2 separate regions of the Homo sapiens genome follow, and region 1 is linked to region 2. Evidence: promoter capture Hi-C in human tissues and cell types (Jung and others, 2019). All regions are on one chromosome and are shown on one strand. The core of a region is centred on a gene start or on the middle of the fragment in contact, and the rest is flanking DNA. Distances in the headings are between cores, read along the strand shown.

The links. The method cuts DNA at HindIII sites, captures the fragments that hold promoters and counts their contacts. A contact is called where the count stands out against the background at its distance.
Region 1: a fragment that was not itself captured here is called in contact with the fragment with the promoter of EGF in region 2 in 1 of the 25 tissues and cell types used here (dorsolateral prefrontal cortex).

What each region holds. Positions count from the first base shown.
Region 1 is chr4:109,554,951-109,558,731 of GRCh38, reverse strand. It overlaps the pseudogene CDC42P4. Among named protein-coding and RNA genes, the nearest start is that of MCUB, 3.4 kb to the left of the region's middle. The HindIII fragment of the contact is 3,956 bases long and covers 1-3,699 here.
Region 2 is chr4:109,910,468-109,914,185 of GRCh38, reverse strand. It overlaps EGF (epidermal growth factor), which reads right to left and starts at 1,303. Exons shown (of 24, transcript NM_001963.6): 1 at 724-1,303. The coding sequence starts at 850. The HindIII fragment of the contact is 5,642 bases long and covers 1-3,718 here.

The DNA of each region.
Region 1 (3,781 bases), core at 472-2,971, 360 kb after region 2:
AATGAAGCCGCGGACCCTGGTGGTGAGTGTTACAGTTCTTAAAGGTAGCGTGTCCGGAGTTTGTTCTTTCTGATGTTCGGACATGTTTGGAGTTTCTTCCTCCTGGTGGGTTCAGTGGTTTCGCTGGCTTCAGGAGTGAAGCTGCAGACCTTGGCAGTGAGTGTTACAGCTCTTAAGGTGGCGCGTCCGGAGTTGTTCATTCCTCCCAGTGGGTTCGGGTCTCACTGGCCTCAGAAATGAAGCTGCAAACCTTCACGGTGAGTGTTACAGATCATAAAGGCAGTGCAGACCCAAAGAGTGAGCAGCAGCAAGATTTATTGCAAACAACAAAAGAACAAAGCTTCTAGAGCGTGGCACGGGACCCAGACAGGTTGCCACTGCTGGCTCTGGCAGCCTGCTTTTATTCCCCCATCTGGCCCCACCCACATCCTGCTGATTGGTCCATTTTACAGAGCGCTGATTGGTCCGTTTTGACAGGGTGCTGATTGATGTGTCTACAATCCCTGAGCTAGATACAGAGTGCTGATTGGTGTATTTACAATCCTTTAACTGGATATAAAGGTTCCCCAAGTCCCCACTAGATTAGCTAGACACGGAGCACTGATTGGTGCATTTACAAACCTTGAGCTAGACACAGGGTGCTGATTGGTGTGTTTACAATCCTTTAGCTAGACATAAAGGTTCTCCAAGTCCCCAGGAGATTAGCTAGATACAGAGTGCTGATTGGTGCATCCACGAACCCTGAGCTAGACACAGAGCACTGATTGGTGCATTTACAAACCTTTAGCTAGACAGAGTGCTGATTGGTGCATTTACAATCCTCTAACTAGACATAAAAGTTCTCCAAGTCCCCACCCCTCTCAGGAGCCCAGTTGGCTTCCCCTAGTGGATGCCATGCCAGGGTTGCGGGCTGAGCTGCTTGCCAGTCCTGCGCTCGTGCCTCGTGCCTGCACTCAGCAGCCCTTGGGCAGTCAATGGGACTGGACGCCGCTGAGGCAGGGGCGGTGCCCCTCAGGGAGGCTAGGGCCTAGCAGAAGCCCACCGCGGGGGGACTTGCACATGGCGGGCTGCAGATCCGAGCCCTGCCCCATGGGGAGGTGGCTGAGGCCTGGTGAGAATTTGAGCGTGGCGCGGGCCGGCTGGCAGTGCTGGGGGACCTGACGCCCCCCTCTGCAGCTGCTGGCCCAGGTGCTAAGCCCTTCACTGCCCGGGCCGGGGGTGCCGGCCGCCCTCCGAGTGCGGGGCCACGGAGCCCACGCCCACCCGGAACTCGCGCTGTCCCGCAAGGCCACATGCAGCCCCGGTTCCCACCCGCGTCTCTCCCTCAACCTCCCTGCAAGCAGAGGGAGCTGGTACCAGCTTCCGCAAGCCTGGAGAGGGGCTCCCACAGTGCAGCAGCGGGCTGAAGGGCTCCTCAAGCATGGCCAGAGCGGACTCTGAGGCCAAGGAGGCGCTGAGAGCCAGCGAGGGCCGCCAGCACATTGTCACCTTTCAATAAGATTCTTTACACAATTTTTATTAAACCAGAGAGCCAGCCAGGCGTGGTGGCTCATGCCTGTAATCCCAGCACTTTGGGAGGCCAAGACGGGCGGATCACAAGATCAGGAGTTCAAGACCAGCCTGGCCAACATTGGTGAAACCCTGTCTCTACTAAGAATACAAAAATTAGCCGGGCGTGGTGGAACGTGCCTGTAGTCCTGGCTACTCGGGAGGCTAAGGGAGGAGAATTGCTTGACCCCGGGGAGGCAGAGGTTGCAGTGAGCCGAGGTTGTGCCACTACACTCCAGCCTGGGCGACAGAGCAAGACTCCATCTCAAAAAAAAAAACAAACCAGAGAGCCTCATTTGGGGGCTCTTGGGTTCCTCGTCTGCTACACAGAAGTGAGGAGATTCCCCTGACTGATCTCATGTTGTTAAGTGTTCTATCCATCCCCACCACACCCCAACTTCTTCATGAAGCAGGTCTCCATCCTTATAACTTGAGAGGCTGTGAATCATTCCATAGATGTCGGTCTTCTGCTACCGCTCTTCACATTGCCTCTACATACCAGGTCTTCAGCTGCATTCTAGAAACATCATATACTATTGATTGCAAATCTATAATAATATAAGACAATGACTGACAGGGAAAAAAGTTTTTTTAAGTTACAAACTCAATCCACTTGTTGCATTTCAAAGGTGCAATACTTTTCTTTATTCATCAGTTAAAGAAGTTAGAAATTAACTTCCCCAAAAATCAGCAACCGGCAAACAAATTTCCTTGAAAGTCACAGTCACATATTTAGTGCATCCCAGAAAAGAACAGGGGCAAGAGAATTTTCACCCACTTTCATGAGTTTCATCAAATACTGAGCCTACTCAAGGGTGGAGAGAAAAGGTAACTTTCAAAAAGAGGTATGTTATTAAATAAGGCATTTACTATATTCTTTCCTAAAAGCACCCCAGATAGGGAACATGTTTTTTAAACTAGATTTAGGAAGTCGAATATGGAGTCAATCCGTCCTTCTCCTCTTAAGGACTGACCACTGGTTAATGAATTAAAAAAGAGAAAAGAAAAGAAAAGAAAAAAGACTAAAAAACAAACCCTACAAACACTCCTCCTCCAAAAAAGAAAAAAATAAAACCCCACTAAGATGTCCCAGATTACCCTCCAGAATGGACCCAGGGAGCAGCTTCAACAATTCCAATTAGTCTGTTACACAGTCATCACAAGCATGCCTTGCTTTTAAGTAAAAACAAAATTGTTTTTTGAAACAAAAACCAAAAATGAGTACTGATCACTTTTCTAACAATACACAATTACTCAGAATTAACTAGTATTGGGAGGGAGAAGTGGGCCATACCTCTAATCCCTGTCTCACATGGATGCATGTGGGTTGGTGCAGGGTATTTGTCATTATTGCATAAATGAATTTTAATTTTTAATCTTTTGTTTGATTTAAACATTGCTTTTAGTATGATGCCTACACCAGCTGTGCAGAAAGGGCTCTGGAGAGATGTTCATAGCAGCATAGGCTTCCAGCTCTTCTTCAGTTCTGGAGGCTCCAGGACAGCCAATATTGCTTTGTCAAATCCATTCTTTAGATCTTGCTGTGTGGGTACAGGACCGTCCATATACTTGACAGCCTTCAGGTTGTGGGCCGGCTTTTCAGCAGTCTCTGGAGTGATAGGCTTCTATTTGTTCTTGGTAATTTTCTCAATAATAGACCCTCTGAGATCAATTTGGGTTGTGACAAGCAAGAAAGGAGCCTTTGGACAGTGGTGAGTTATCTCAGGCCCTCACTTTTCTTTCATACTTTAAAATGAACATGGAGAGACCACTGAGAAACAGACTAGAAATATATCTGTGTAGATAACTCAGGAGTTATAGTCTGTCATAATCTTCTTGCCCTGCAGAATTAAAAGTCTAAGAGTATATGGCTCTGCACCAGTCCTAACTGTGAGTGCATAGTTGTCAAAAACAGTCTGTATCTATTAGGATGGAAATTTGTTGTGTAGGATATCAGGAGACATGTTTTACCAACAACTGCATTGACCACAACAATGCAACTAATTGTCTGCATTGCTGAAATAGTTTTGTATCCACTTTAAATATTTGAAATCTGATGTTGACCTCAGTTCTCCAGAAAAGAGTCTTATTAGGAAGGAGGGGAATGGAGAAGAGGGGGAGGAGATGTCCGTTTTGCAGCACAGAATCTGGCCACAAAGGTGGGATTAGCAAACTCCTGTGGGAGAAGCTCCGGACACTGCAGACAGAGCGGGTTTACCGGGGAGGCACTGTC
Region 2 (3,718 bases), core at 54-2,553:
GTTTTTCAGGCAATATCCTTTGGCAGGATTGTAATTCGCATTCAGTCAAGCTCCCATTTCCCCTTGGCAAAAAATTCATTTAATATGAGAGGACAGTGTGGCTTATTTACCCATTATCATATTTGGCAGTTCTTAAAGTTGCAATGCACCTGTTACTAAAACTCCGGAGTTGTGTCAGAGCCTCAGAAACAGTAAGAGTGGGGAGAAAGTGAAGGAGGTTGAAATTGAAATTTAGGTTAATTTTCACAACTACCTTTGTTCACAGTTCCCTTTCCATTTTTCACTAATTTTTAGAACTTCTGAATTCTTACAAGTTATCAGAAGGAAGGATTTTTTTCTTTGTGGCTTAAGAGTTTCAAACAGACAAACAAAAAATCAACCATCTGTTTCCCTAATTTCCAAGCAATTAGCCAGGTGTTAATTACTCCTCTTGTCAGAGTAAAAGCTGAAGCTTCCATGAAATGTTCTGCTAGTTTAAAATGAGGCATATTCATTCACTTATACACAGAAGTACAGTTTGAGAGTTATGAAGTTTTATAGTTGGTAGCAGATTAGCTCTAATGGCCAGTAAGAAAATAAACATGCATCAGAAAACAAAAATTAAGCAACTATACATACCCAAAGACAAACTTTGTTAAATGCCCAAGTATACCAGATTGAACCAACAGGGATGTGGGGGCAGTTTCCCGGAGACCTGGAGCACCTTTTCATTGGAGTACTTACCCACACAAGTAGAATTCCCATTTCCTGCGAGAGTACCTTCAGGACAGCTCCAGTGCTGCGGTGCTGAGAGACTAACAAAACTAAATTTTGAAACTACTGGCAACAGAATGATAAGAGTGAGCAGCATAATCTTGATGAGTTTGAACTTTCAAAAGAAAACAGCTTGATTTTGCTGGAGCATGGCCCGGGCAAGGTGAGTATGATTGACCCCAGATGCGGCTGCCTGAGCGGAGGCCTCAGCCCTGGGGCATCTTTTACTCTCCTGTTGTGCTGTTGTCCTCCAAGCTCTTTCTTCAACTGAGAGACCTTCTGAATGCAGCCTGCCAAGGGAAGCCACAGGAAAGATTTCTTTATCTATGTTTCTTTGGAAGCCAGTAAGAAATACCTGACACCCTTATGACAAATTTCACAGAGTTTAACAGCCCTGCTCTGGCTGACTTCACTGTGACAGAGCAAGGCAAAGGCTTAGAGAGGAAAAAGAAAGGAAGAACTGATGGAAAGTTCCAGCTACAACCCTTGGATTGGGGCTGAAAGAAGAAATATGGAGATACGATTCCTCTCCCAACAGTTTCTCTTTTTGAAAAGTGGAATGACTCAGCTTTGCTTTTTAAAGCTCTTCAGGCTCCACCTCCTTTCCTTTAGTGACACTTGAGTGAGCCTCTGTTTGCAAATGCGAATGTGGGCAATTCCTCCACACAGGAAAGCAGGGATGACTGCCAAAGAGGAGATAACTCGCTACTCACCATAAATATCCTGGGCAGAACTGGGAGAGAGGAGTTGGGGGCTGTGGAGGTGCTCATGGTGAATGGCGGGAACTGCTAAATATTGGCTATGTTTTAATGTCTGGAAGGATGGAGACAAAATTAAACCATGCAGTATAAATCAATAATAAGCAGCACTGTTGATAGTTTGGATTGATAATAATTGATCATTCACATGAGCAATAGTAAAGATAGTTCACCTTCAGCCCATTATTTGAACGAAATGTCAATACCAGTGCACATTCCAGGAGCTTTATCTTATTTTTCTCTTTCTCCTGTATAGTTTATAGCGGAATTTGAAAGATTATTCTTTCCAAATCAAAGGGAAATCCCTGAGGCCAAATGAAGAGATACAGTATGGACAGACACCTTTTCTTTCAGCATGAGCATGATAAAACATCACGAGGGGCCAGGAGTGCAGAGAAAGGAGTGGATTGTTATTATAGGGACATTGGAAAAAATAAGCTAACAGTGCAAAGCTGGGAAGCACTGGAAATCCAGCACAGAGGAATGCTTTTCCTTCTAAGATAATTTAGGCTTTTTTTTTTTCACATCTCTGTGATAGAAAATAAGAACTGGACGTATCTGTTAGCTGTCTCCTCAACCACTTTCTACTTGGAGCAACAGTGGTTATTTCTTCAGGAGTACAACTAGGGCCCAAAAATACCCAGAAGGCAAACAACTTATAGCAGATTTGATGCACGATGGAAATTTCTGTCAGTTTACTCCATCCTGGAAAATGGACTTTCATTTAAGTTACCCTGAGGTAGTGTTCCAAGTGCTGGTCAAAAATGTACGTAAAAGCAATAGTCACAAAAACAACTGTCACACTAGTGAACACCCCATTACAGAGGAGAACAGACTAACTCTAAGCCTTTTACTCATACTTAATTATGTCCTGATTATTCTCCAAAGACTGGATCACTTTCCTGAAACAGCTTAAGTCAGGATTTCTCCTATTTCAGCCAGCCTCTGCCAGGCAGCTCTGAACCCTTACAGGAGAAACAGACCCTGGGGAAGGGGGAAAGAGAAGTCCTTTAGGTGGTTATGCGGAATATTCCATTGCTTTCTGGACTGAGTCAGACTCAAGACTCATAATGAGCATCCTACAAATAACCTGCACTGACTCTTCGAGTTACTAACTTTATTAATAAGCTTCCCTTTCAGCACAATACATTGCCAGCATCCCAGATGACAGCAATGGAAGGGGCTTAGAGGACAATCAAGCATCACGCTGTGTCAGTGGAGTGGAGTGGAGAGAATGATATGAAGACAAACATGAAATGATCCACAGCTCTGTTCTGTTTGGATTTGGAATCTCTCATATTATTTTTGGTTGGAAAAAGGTTTGCTTTCTTAATTACATGTCACCTGGGCTAATGTTGTCATTAATGTTGAGTACAAGCTCCCTAGGAGATGACGGAGTCAACAGAGGTATAGCAGATGCTATGGCTGATGACTGATGATGAAAATCAATCGCAGCTAATTCATCATCTACAGTTGCCCAGATAGCAAAATCATAGGACAGAGCTACCCAACTGGGAAGGATTTACAGAGATATTTAATAAGTTTATATTCCAGCCGGGCGTGGTGGCTCATGCCTGTAATCCCAGCACTTTGGGAGGCCAAGGTGGGCAGATCACACTTCAGGAGATCTAGACCATCCTGGCTAACACGGTGAAACCCCATCTCTACTAAAAATACAAAAAGTTAGCCAGGCGTGGTGGCACATGCCTATAGTCCCAGCTACTCATGAGGCTGAGGCAGGAGAATTGCTTGAACCCAGGAGGCGGAGGTTGCAGTGAGCCGATAACACGCCACTGCACTCCAGCCTGGGTGACAGAGCAAGACTCTATCTCAAAAAAATAAATAAATAAATAAATAATAAGTTTATGTTCCTACTTCTGGATAAAACTGAACCTTTCTTGCACTCAAGAAAGGTTGAAATAAACTCTTTATTTTAAAATTGATAAGAAATGCACTATAACTTATAGGTTTGAGCTGCCAAATATGATTTAATTTCTGGAATTGAGTTAAAGTTAACTAATTCATTCGTTAATTAAACAGCTATATATGATAGAGCACTGCCTGGAGTACAAGAAACAGAAGTCGTAGTCCTTAACATCAAGAGCTTGCTGAGGTTGATTAACAGCAACAACAGAGAGTATGAGTATGAGCTAATGAATGACCAGCCACCAAGTACATGACTGGTCACAAACTGGGTGTCAGGAAAG